Linked DNA regions of Homo sapiens: region 2 is linked to region 1. The links are contacts of gene promoters, found by promoter capture Hi-C in human tissues and cell types (Jung and others, 2019). All regions are on one chromosome and are shown on one strand. The core of a region is centred on a gene start or on the middle of the fragment in contact, and the rest is flanking DNA. Distances in the headings are between cores, read along the strand shown. Region 1 holds the start of PLCH1 (phospholipase C eta 1). Region 2 has its middle 47 kb from the start of PLCH1-AS1.

What was found. The method cuts DNA at HindIII sites, captures the fragments that hold promoters and counts their contacts. A contact is called where the count stands out against the background at its distance.
Region 2: a contact is called between a fragment that was not itself captured here and the fragment with the promoter of PLCH1 in region 1, in 1 of the 25 tissues and cell types used here (H1 embryonic stem cells).

The regions. Positions count from the first base shown.
Region 1 is chr3:155,743,577-155,749,934 of GRCh38, reverse strand. PLCH1 (phospholipase C eta 1) reads left to right here and starts at 4,864. Exons shown (of 23, transcript NM_014996.4): 1 at 4,864-5,095. RefSeq lists enhancers at 4,902-5,111, 5,006-5,627. The HindIII fragment of the contact is 7,162 bases long and covers 3,606-6,358 here.
Region 2 is chr3:155,398,850-155,405,207 of GRCh38, reverse strand. It overlaps the pseudogene DTWD1P2. Among named protein-coding and RNA genes, the nearest start is that of PLCH1-AS1, 47 kb to the left of the region's middle. The HindIII fragment of the contact is 4,496 bases long and covers 975-5,470 here.

The sequences.
Region 1 (6,358 bases), core at 3,615-6,114:
CTTTGGCAGCAGATTTAAGAGAGGGCAGCCTAGGGAACATCTATTCTTTTTTTTTTTTTTGAGACGGAGTCTCGCTCTGTCACCCAGGCTGGAGTGCAGTGGCGCGATCTTGGCTCACTGCAACCTCTGCCTCCCGGGTTCAAGCAATTCTCTGCCACAGCCTCCCGAGTAGCTGGGATTACAGGTGCCTGCCACCATGCTTGGCTAATTTTTGTATTTTTAGTAGAGACGGGGTTTTACCATATTAGCCAGGCTGGTCTCGAACTCCTGACCTCATGATCCACCCGCCTCAGCCTCCCAGAGTGCTGGTATTACAGGTGTGAGCCACCGTGCCCAGCCCATATCTATTCTTTTTATTTGCCAGAATCTCTTCCTGCCTTCACTTGGTAGGACCAGCCCCTTTCATCTTGGGAACAAATCCTCCCTGGTTCCAAGCAGTTCTGATGGGCTGCTACTTATAATACCCCGCCTTCCTGGCCATAAGGGTGTGTGTATAATCAGGATCTGGCCACACATATACTCTACTTATTGTTGTCCACAGTAATTGACCTATGGATGGACACATGACCTAAGTCAGGTCAGTTCGAATCCTTTCCTACCATCTTATTTACAGATGGTAAAAGCAAAAAGGCCTCTCTAGCTGAGACGATTGAAACCTGGAGCTGTCTCTAGTCATGCTCTCCCCACCCCCAGCTTGTACAGAAAGCTCATATGGAATAGGAGAGAATAGGATCAAAACACTGAGAAAAGCAGAGACAGGGAAATAGTAGGAGCAAAGGTGAAAGTGTGAGAGTGACAAAAATTCCTTGCTTGGCCAAACAAACATTAGTCATGCTTCTGAGCCTTCTCCTGGGCCCATATGTGCGTTTTCTTGTAAAACTCAGTTTTAGAAAAGAGTTCTGCCAAGTCAGTTTAGCAAGAACCCCCACTCTCCATATCTGATCATTCTCAATATCTGATCAGATCCCTCATCCTCCACTATTGCCCAGGTCATGTCTGATCTCCCTGGCCTGTGTTCAGCAAGAATCCAGTTATGTCGGGTTAGCTAGAGTTCCTCATATTCCTGATGTTTCCTCTTAGTGATTTTTCATCCAGCAACCCCATCTGTTCTTTGTCTATAAATTCCAAGCTGCCTATGCTGTATTCTGCATGAGCTCCTTGCAGTAGTCCCTGTGCCGATTTCGATCGTGCTGGATAAAGCCTTCCTTACCATGCTTTAACACTGACTAATTTTTTCTTTAACAAGAGAAATGCTGATTCTGAATTGCTAGACTCCCACCGTTTCTGAAGTCCTTATCCTTCCCCCTATCTTAAAGTGGGAGTCAATACATCAGCTTTTTTTACTCAAGCTGGTTTGATAAGGGGTTTTGTTATTTGTACCTAAAAGCCGTGACCAATTTGTAGAGTAGGGCCATAAAGACAGGTACTACGCTCTACTTCAGGAGTGCTATCTATATTCCAGCTAAGGCTTACCACCTAGAGCAGTGCCTGGTACATGGCAAGTACTAAAGAAATATGTGTTGAAAGAGGAGTGCCTCTTCCTTGATACGCTTTTTTGGTCAATGGTTTTCTTAACTTGGTGCATTGATTAAAATAGGGAACATTTATCTCCTTTCCTCTCTTGCTCGTGGATATAACTCAAGATGGTTGCTGTTTAAATTTGAACACCTTAAATAAATGGCTCTTTTTGCAACTGGAAGCACAATTTTTGCACAGCTAGAAAAATCTTTTTCCAACACAGAAATTCCCAGTGCAGTTTTCTAAGAAACCCCCTACGATACGCAGCACAGCAGGCTCACCACAAGGCACATCAATCATTTTACTGTGTATCAGGCACCTCTTACAGGATTTTCTGTGATCCTGGTGTCAGTGCACATTCTGTATCAAGGCAGAGATGATATGTAGAAATCTGGCAGCTATTTAGAAGGGAGGCTGGGCAGTGGTGTGCCAGTATAATTAATGAGAGTCATCGCTTAGGAAATGAAGAGGGTGGGGGTTGGGAAGGATGCCTTTCACCATTCAATGGCATTTAAGAAAAATTGATGCTTTCTTAGCACTTTTAATGCTGGGAGGACATTAAGTCAAAGAATCACAGCAAAAGATTTTTGTAACTACTGTACAGATGGATGTCCCTGTGCTTGAAGAGGCAGGGCTAATTCAACCCCAGACTTTTCAGCCAGGCGGATTTCAACCTTGTATTGAGCTACCAGCAGGAGTTCTTTATACTTGGAAAAGTGGTAAATCCTTACTAAAAGATCATAGCTTGCATGACCAAGAGATCCTCTAGAAAAGGTACTTTACTACCATGTAGGATGTTTGTCTTACCTGCCCAAAGAAGTTTTAATGAAGATCTCATTTTCTCCAGTTCCCCTTTAACCAGTGAAAGAGGAGGGTATTATTTGTTTTGTTTTTCTATTTATTCTTTGGTAACCATGGAAGAGTTTGTGTAACCTAGAGAGGCTGCTTATTACCCACTGTCTAATCCCTTTGTTATTATTCCATACTCTGATTGTCACAAGCAGGAAAAATAGTTCTGTCCTGCTTCTAAAAACTTAGCAATGTAACACATTTTCTTGTTTTTAGTGATTTTCTCCAATTAATTAATTAATTGTTTTAGTGATTTTTCTCAGATAAATAATGTTAAAACGACTTGGAGAGAAAAGCTACATTAAAAGATTATGGATGTATAAATGTCCTAAACATTTAAGAACATGCATAATTATGATTCATACCAACTTCAGAATTATTACCTTTGGGAAGGGGTGGGGGTAACGAGTCAGGAGTTGGGGTTTAGCTATATCTGTAATGCTTTATTTAAAAAAGAAGGGCTGGGGGGAGCAGGAGTATTACATGGTATATATCCTGTTTTTGGTAGGTTTGAAATATCACACAATTTAAAAATTTAAAAGTTTACAAAATTATGGGAGTTGATTAAAACTATCAAAATAAAGAATGCATAGCAAACAAGTGCTCTTATTATGAACTTTGTGTCTGAGTTTATTTCAACATGTGCATCTGCATTTTTTCAGACTCAAGAAAGACAAACACCGGAGGTTAGGGGGTGAACTGCTGCTGTTGAGGGATTATCTTGGTGGTTTTTTTTTTTTTTTTTTTTTTTTTGGCTTTTCTATTCACCATGGAGGTTACCAGCAAAACAAATCTCCAACAAGCTTGTTTACAAAATATAAAGCAGTTTGGAGGCAGAGGGTTAATGACTTAATTTCTTATAAATTGAGGCTTGTGTATGGGCATGCAAAAAAACAAAAACAAAAACAAGTAAATTTGGGGAGGTTTCTTTCTATAGAGGCAAAGGACCTTACCTACATTTTTTCCAAATTGATTTCTTCCTGGTACTATTGGCAGGAAGAAATTCAAGTGGGTATTCTGGTGGCTTTTTTCTTTTTTCTGAGAGTCTAGGATTGTTTTCAGGACAAAGTTTCTTCTTGCCCATGGTGCTTTGCTGTGACATTGTAATTGCCTCTGTTGAATTGAATAATACAAATGGGTTGTTTCTATGGTATCGGCTAAGTGGGATGAAAAGGTGAAACCCTAGATCTTGCGCTGAGAGGTCACAGTGCTACCACCCTCCACACTGTCTGTCAAAGAGAACAGGCAGCCAAGGCCCTGAGCTCCAATCTCAGGCACTCATTTGTAACTTACTCGTTTGTAACTTCCTGGGCAAATTCACGCATGAAAAAAGAAAATGACTTTAGTTTATGTTGTCACTAAGCCCAGAAAATCCCTGCCAACCCCATGCTGCCAGCTTTCCTAGGACATTCTTATTGGAGGATTATTTTAAACTGAAAGGTGAGTGAAGAGCTGCGTCCCCACTCCTTCCCAGCCAGGCTTTGAACTAACAATAGGGCAGGTTGAATGAAGGCTGATAAATGTAAATCCTGGAATCCAGAAGCCGGATCACACCGCGGCCGTCTAGGCCAGCGGCGGTTCCAGCATCCGCCCCAAGCTGGTCACTCATCCTTTCAGTGCATTCAGTAGATTTCATCGTTTCATCAACACTTGAGTGCCTGCTTCGTGCAAGCTTTCCTCTGCCACCGCCGCCTTCTTACTCCCGGCAGGTTGCCCGCTTGAGTCAACCAGCCACTAAACGGATCTAAGTGAATAAGTGGCCTGTTAATGCCAAGGAGTAGCATTTCCAAATGAAGAGACTGGGGGTAAATAAAAGCAAAGTGTTACCATTTACACGCTCTCAATTTTAGTTGCACTTCACTCAGAGTAGATCTCTTTAATTTGCGGCATCGACAGATGCTATATTCTTAGAAATTTTTTTTTTTTAAAGGAGGTAAGACGGGCGTTTGAGAACACTTTTTACTTTGGTGCAAGTTGCACGCAGTTCCCATTCACTCAGAGTAGATCTCTTTAATTTGCGGCATCGACAGATGCTATATTCTTAGAAATTTTTTTTTTTTAAAGGAGGTAAGACGGACGTTTGAGAACACTTTTCACTTTGGTGCAAGTTGCACGCAGTTCCCATTCCCTGCGCCCTTCACTTCCAACTTTGTTTCTCCAACTCCTTTACCCCCCACCACCGAGGCCCTCTGGCTACAGCCCCGAGGGGTTACCCTGGGTTTCGAAACTTTTGAAACTTGCGGGGGAGTAAAAGTACTTCATTCCCAGTGCTTCTGGCCCTTGCCAAGCGGGGAGCCCCGCAGGAGAGTGTAAGCCAAGGGTTCCAGGTGCAGCCTTGGGGTTCCACGTGCAGCCCTAGGGTTCCGTACACCCATCCCGCCCGGGCCAGAGGAGGCAGCAGGCGCTCCAGTCCGCTCTCCGCAACTCCAGTTCCTGATTTCCTCGGAAGCTGCGGGGCCGAGAGGGAGGGGGGCTCCTGTGTGAGCGTGAGGATTTGAATGAGAAAGCAGGTTGTGGCGGCGGCGCCCTGCTCTTCCCCGCTCGTCTGGGGCTTCTGCTGGCTAGTGGGGAGAAGTGCTCTTCTAGGGGGGCTTTTCTGGCCCTTGGCAGGGGTTTGGAGTTGGAGTCACAGGGGCCAATAACTCATCACCCCAGCACTTCGGAGGTGGCTCCTTGTGCCACGGACTCCGAGGAGTCCTTCAGCTACTGAACACTCAAAGCTGAGGAGGTCAGTGCTTTCGGGGGAAGAAGGGGCCCAGGAGAGAAGGGGGTGTGCAGGAAAAAGAGAACTGGTACGCCAGTCCGATGAGCGAGTGAGCAGGTGGCCCAAGTTCCTTTCTCGGCAGCCACAGCCGGCACACGCCTGTTTAGGACTGTGAGTGCTGTGCGTGGGGATCCCCTAAGGCCCCGTGCGGGGAACTGGCCACGGCCGCTCTTCAGGGTCCCATAATTCAGAAGGATGAGGGTGGGTGTGTGTGTCCGCGAAATAATGTAACTCTCGGGTCCCTTGCGGTGGTGGTGGGTGGCGTTTCGCCCGGTGGAAGGTCCAGCCTCGCTGCAGGATGCTTCACCCTCACGCGGGGTCCCGGGACCCTCTCTCTGACCGCCAGACGCCGCCAGGAGAGCAGGTCCGCGTTTCCCAGCAAGGGGAGTGCAGCGTCCGTTACACTTGGGGAGTCTCACAGCTTTTCCTGCGCCCGGTGACCCTGCTCAGGACCTCTTAGAGACTAGGTGTGCTCAGCGCGAGGAGGATATACTCCATTGCCCTTTCCTGGGAAGAACCAAGAGCGCCCGAGCGGCGCGGGGTGGTGGAGGCAAACCCCGGCCCCGCGGCGGCACGCTCTGCGCCTGCGCGGCGTTTCCTTGGCGACTGAGCTGCGGGTCCGAGACGCCACCCCGCGAGCCCCTAAACCCAGTTCCCTGTTGAGCGTCTGCGACGCCCTCTCCCCTCCTTCCCGAGGCTTTTTCTATTTGTTTCCTTCTGCGAATCAATTTGTGATCACATTTTGACGTTGAGAGTTCAGCATTAAAGCAATAACCAACTAAATTAAAAAAAAAAACCCAACTTTTCCCTTCCCTTGTTACCGTTTTGATCACGGACAGAAGAAAATGGTGAGAGATTAGTTATTAGGGCAGCAATTGAAATCCCCCTCTGTCCCGAAAAGGGGAGACGAATAAAACATTTACTTCCTGGTAAGGAGTTAGAAAATTCAGTGAAGTGATTGTTCTCGAGCGTTACAAGAACAAATCTGTGCCTCCTAACCCAGGTGAAGAGCAGAGCTTGTACAACCCAGCAGCACCCATGTCCTGTTTATTGGCATGTTTATGACAAGGAGATGCTCTGCAAAAGGGACCAGAGTATAATGCCAATGAAAAGAAACAAAGGATTTCCCAGAAGAGGCGGTAGTTTTTTTCAGTTGCCTCAGCGTTTTGGTCACCTTTGGGGTTAAAGTCTTCTGCAGAGAATGCTTCAAGAAGCCTTAACAGAAGC
Region 2 (6,358 bases), core at 1,973-4,472, 340 kb after region 1:
TGGACGTAGCACAGAATATGTTGACTCCTCAGTAAGAATATTATCCGGCAAGGGTGACAAGGAATTTTAACACTTGTGTAGCTGTTGTTCTCTGTAAGTCAGCAAAGGATGCTAACACACTGATAGCTAAGGGCAAGGCTGAGTAGACCAAAGGACAGTTTTGAAGGGCGTTGTAGGCATCAGAAATAGCCACAGCCCACTGTCTGCTTAATTAGATTGCCCTTGGACCTTCAGTTTAGCATATTGAATCCCTATTATGAGCAAAGGCTGTACTTAATGTGTGTCCACATTAGCTGGACAGGTCGACTGGGGTCAAGAAAAATCTTTTGGGTTTGTAACTACCTTGATAGTCGTCCAGTTCCATGCTCTTGATGTGCTGCTGAGGAAACTAAGGTCCTGTGAGGTTTAGTGACCTTCCCCAAAGTCACACTGATACTATGGTCAGCAAAGCTAAGGCTACACATAACCCTCCTGCATTTCAGTTCACCTTCATTTCCACCCTATCACCTGTCTCCCCAGATGTCTGCTTTTTATTTACTTTGCACAGCTAACAGATGGTTACTCCCCACCTCTCATTTAACTTAATGGCCATAGCATCTTGGACCTTAGCCAGGTCATATTCTTTGTAGGAATGAATTTGCCTCTCTTCAGTCTTCCCACCAAATGGTGAGGCATTTTCATGCTCAGCTACCAAAAAAGGTTCATGAGAACATGATGGCTATACTTCACAGTTCGTTAAGTGTCTCCTTCCCTCTAGGGCAGGGCACAGGCCTGGGGTATTGAACATGGCTGATTCTTCGAGGTACTAAGATGGAGTATGAAAATGGAGTGGGCATAGCTGAAGCCAGGAAGGTAGCAAGCAGGAAGCTAAGAGTAAAAGTGGGCTCTGGAACCAAAAACCATTCAAATAAAGCAACACCTACCACAAGGGCTGGGCAGGCTCAGAGTGCAGGGGCTGGGCCCACTTTCTTCCTTCTTGCTCTCTGCATCCTGCCTTTCTTAGCACCAGAGGGCCTGGCTGTTGCCCTGGTGAGGAGTGGACTCCCCTCATTTGCCCAAGTGAGAAGTGGACTCCCCTTATTTCAGGTCTGTATGATGAATGGGCAGAGGGCTGTTATCATTCAGCAGAGTCAGGCCTCTGCTAGAGGAATTGTGTTTTTAGGAGGCATTTGGGGCCCTTTGAGAAAAATGACTTTCAGATTTTTCTTAAAAACAAAATAAGACAAACAAACAAAATTTCAAAAACAACGTCTACAATTGTTTTTAGCATTTTCAGTGCCAAGGCAGACCTACCCCAGAAAAAGTATCAATTCTGCAGAATTTGATAATGAAATTGCTATTTGACTTACAGTAACTGCATCTAAGGATCAGCCTCCGAACCTCAATGTGCCAATGCTGCTTTGTTTTAGAAATAAGTGTTGTATTTTGGTTTGAACAAAAAAAGAATCTCTCAATCCACCCAAAGTTTTCAAATCAAACAAGAAAATAATTCAAAAATCGAAGGAATACAGGCCAGGCATGGTGGCTTACACCTCTAACCCTAGCACTTTAGGAGGCTGAGGTGGGTGGATCACTTGATGCTGGGAGTTCAAGACCAGCTTGGCCAACATGACAAAATGCCATCTCTGCTTAAAACACAAAAAATTAGCTGGGCATGGTGGGGCGCCTGTAGTCCCAGCTAGTCAGGAGACTGAGGTAGGAGAATTGCTTGAACCCAGGAGGCAGAGGTTGCAGTGAACCAAGATCGCACCACTGCACTCCAGCCTGGGCAACAGAGAGAGACCCTGTCTCAAAAAAAAAAAAAAAAAAAAAATTGAAGGAATGCAATAGTCATGAACTACGCTATTGCTTTTGAAGGTCTCCTTCAAAACCCATGCTTAAGAAATTCTTAGGCTGGGCACAGTGGCTCACACCTGTAATCTTGGGAGGCTGAGGTGGGTGGATTACCTAAGGTCAGGAGTTCAAGGCCAGCCTGGCCCACATGGTGAAACCCCGTCTCTACTAAAAATACAAAAAAATTAGCCGGGCTTGGTAGCGGGCGCCTGTAATCCCAACTGCTTGGGAGGCTGAGGCAGAGGTTGCAGTGAGCTGAGATCACGCCACTGCACTCCAGACTGGGCGACAGAATGAGACTCTCTCTCAAAAAAAAAAAAAAAAAAAAAAAAAAAAAGAAAAGAAAAAGAAAAAAAGAAAGAAATTTTTCTAAAAGTTCAGGTAAGGTGGAAAGAAAGTATTTCAAATGTAGCAGTTCAAGAATGTTCTTCAAGTATATGTATGGTATTTCAGTTGAAAAATGTACTAATAGAAGAGATTCCATTGGTGAATTTTTTACTGTAGATTCATGTCAATAACATCCAAAATAAACAGATGGCAAAAGTACTGCTATACATGCCAAACTCTTAGAACACAAAGATATAAATATTTATATACATTCTTATATTTAAGAATATGGAGAGAAAGACCATAATGTTGTGCTTGGTTTGTGTGCTCCCAATTCAATATCAGCCAAAAATATGTACTTTCAACTGCAAAAAAGGTTTCAAAATAAAGTCACAAGCAAAAATGATGACCTTAACAAATCATTTATTACATGAAAAGAAAGAACAATAACAAAACAAAAAAACCCTGAACAGCAAGAGGGCTGTGATTTGAGTGAATTTAACAAATAGAAATATTCAATATTGAAAATAATAAAATTTATAGATAGCACTTGAAACAAGAAAATTAAAATGTTCAACTGTGAGTGACTTCAAAGATTGACATAGGTTGAACAAAACAAGAAAACTTTGCTTTTAGCCTGTGATTTTTTGATGTAATAAGACATATGTGTATATTGGTCTTGTTCTCCGCTCCTGGCCAGAGCTCCTAAACATTGGTTATTTCCTGAGTGATAGGGATGCTAGGTGCATCTTTTGTTCTCATTTTTTTGCCTTTTACCCAATTCGTGATACGGAGCTCCTAAATACCTTGGAATTTTCAGGGTGATGAGAGCCACTTTTGGTGGGCTCCTGCATGGGGACTAGTCACCAGAAAGACCAAGCCATAATTAGAAGCCTGGAACTTTCAACCCCAACCCCCTACTCTGAAGAGGTAAGAGGAGTTGAAGATTTAGTTAATAATTGATCATGTCTACATGATGAAGCCCCTTCAAAATCCCCAAATGACAGGGTTTGAGGAATTCTTAGGGTGGTGAACACATCCATATGCCAGAAGGTGGCATACCCCTACTCCATGGCAATAGAAGCTGCTGTGCTTGGGACCCTGCAGACCTTGCCCCAAGAACCTTCATCTGGCTGTTTATCTGTATTCTTTATCATATCCATTATTATATAATAAGCCAGGAAACACAAGTGTTTCTCTGTGTTCTGTGAGTTGCTCTAGCAAACTATCGAGCCCAAGGAGGTCTCAGAACTTCCAGTTTGTAGCCAAGTTGTACAGGAGTTGTGGGTAATCAGGAAACCTACTACTTATCATTGGCATCTGCAGTAGGGGTAGAGTCTTGTGGGAGGTCCTTAACCTGTGAGTTCTGCACTAACTTGAGATAGTGTCAGAATGGGAATTGAATTGTTAAACACCCAGCTGGTGTTGGATAATAGATCAAGTGGGAAAAACACCATAGATCTGGTGTCAGAAGTGAGATATTGAGAATGGCGTGAGTATAAAAGGAAAAACTGTTTTCTCATGCATGGCCAGATCCATTACTTATATATGGCTTATAATTGAAGCCATTTATTCTTTCTAGTGGACTATCTTTCTGATTTATTAATATAGTAGTGTAAAGGAAATATGAGAGACATTTGCTTTTCTATTCTTTTATGTACTAGTTGACAAAGAATGCCAAATGTTCTGGAACAAGGGAAACAAGGGAATGCATCCAACAGTTTATAACAAGACATTTGTGTTCTTCTGTTTTACCAAGATCAATACATTTGTAATGGTACTTTTTTATTCTTTATTGATTAAACAATCTTAGAAAATTATCATGTATAACAAATGCTGCTTTATTCATTTTACTTCAGTTTTTAAAACTAGGTAATTATATAAAGTAAAACATCTAATGAAAATTTTTAGAGTTTACTGAAAACAAAACTCATTTCAAATATGTTCTTAAGTTTGGCATGTTCTAATTTCAACCCTACATTTTAATACGATATTGTGTTATCTTAAAATGAATTGAAGACTCTGGGTCATGGGACATGTAGTTTCTGATCAGATGGCAAAATAACATGATCTCTGCTCTGAGGATGACCTGGAGCCAAGAGGAGTGATGTCATATATCAGAACCGACATTGTGAGAACAGCCTGAGGAGGTGGAGGTGATGGTTGTGGGGAGAAGGTAAATGATAGATGTGGGGAGAGGGTAAATGATGGAGGTTGATACTGAAGGTAGCTTGGAATGGAAGCAGCCTGGGAGGTGTTCTTGTTGTGCCCCATCTTTCCCTGAGTGAGACATTGCCTTTCCCACAGCCACTGTGACGAGGACAGTGGCAGGGCCAGCTCTTAACTGGAGACTGCAGGATACTATGAAGCTTGTGGTCTGGGCATGAGTAGGGGTGGATAAAAGCAGGTGCAGCCTTGAGCTGGAGCCTGGATGCTGCCTCCTTTCTCCATTGTCCACTTCAAGAACTGGGTTATCACTGAGGCAGCTGTTGGAAAAGAAGAGAGCCTGCGCAGGAAATATAGGTTCCTTGAGGGGTGACATCACTTGAGGGTGTGCATTAGAAGGGAGTGGATAAAGTATATAATAAGGAAAACTTAGTATAATCACTTAGAGAAGTGTTTCAATAGCAACACTGGATGCAAAGTATTGAAGAAAGGGAACTTCAAAAAATTAAATGTGAGTAAGAAATAACGATATTCTTAGTCATGCAAAGCCTCAAAAACATCCACTTTGAGAACTGTTTAAAGAAATACATAGTCTGACAAGAAGGAAAGTAAACTCAATACTTCAGTAGATATAGGAAATAAGTAAAATATATTGTCTACAAAACAGCATCATGTACACATATATTTATTTATATCGGAAAGAATAAAAATTAACTACAAATTCAGAACCTAAGCTGAAGATGGTATCACACACACATGATATTACACACATACCTATGTATGATGCCCACGAATACCTTCCAGTGTCCAAAGCTTCATGCAGTCTTTTCTATTGAATCAGTGCTGGCCCTGTGTAAGCAGTAGAGTGTGGCAGAAGAGACACTGTGTGACTTTTGGGGCTGGGATCTTGGAATGCTTACTGTGGTGAAAACAAGCAGCCATGTAAGAATTTTGAATATCCTGAGACTGTTATGCTGAAACTGTCCAAACTAGCAACGTGGACAGGCCACGTGGAAGCCAGTCCCCAGATATTTCAGTCATCTCAGCTGAGGCCACCAGACATGTGGCTAAGGGAACTGTCGTGGATGCTCTGTTGCATTGAGCCTTCTGATGACTTCAGCCCCAGCCATCATCTGGCTGCAACTGAATTAAAGACCCAAGTGAGAACTGCTTATCTAAATCTGGCCATAATGTAGAATCATAAGAGATAATAATAAGGTTTTATCCTAGGCTGCTATATTTTGGGGTGCTTTGTTACAAAGCAGTAGATAACTGAAACAATGGAGTGATTGTAAGGGTAACCCTGACTTCCCACCCCTCTCTGTGTCTGTGGCTTTTGCAATGTGACTTTGCAGTTCCTCTAATCAAGAAGTAGGGTCTACTTTCTCACCCTTTGAATCTGGGTTGGCTTTGTGACTTGCTTTGACCATTAGAATGTGGCAAAAAGTGATGGTATGCCAGTTCTAAGCCAAAGCTTCAGGGGGCCTGAATACCTCTGCACCCTCTCTACCACCACAAAAACAAGTCCACTGTAGTGTATTGGAAGACTATAGATCATGTCAGGCAGAGCTGAGTCAGCCCAGTTGTCCCAGGTAGGCTCCAAACATGTAAAGGAGGCAGTCAAGATATTGGAAGACTTCTAGCTGACCTGTAGCTAATCTCAGATGAATGAGTGTGCCTTACCCATCCCAGGTCAGATCAGTAGATCTGCTCAGCTAACTTCATAGACTTGTGAGCAAAACTGAATGTTTATTTTTGTATGGCACTGAGATTTTTTGTGTGTTTATTACTTAGATTGTTGTGGTAGCAGATAAATAACATATAAGGAAAAAAAAACCATTACAAATTTAGAACTAGGCCGGGTGCTGTGGCTCATGTCTGTAATCCCAGCACTTTGGGAGGCCAAGGTGGATGGATCGATCACCTGTGATCAGGAGTTGGATACCAGCCTGGCCAACATGGTAAAACCCCATCTCTACTAAAAATATAGAAATTAGCTGGGAATAGGTGCCTGTAATCCCAGCTACTTGGG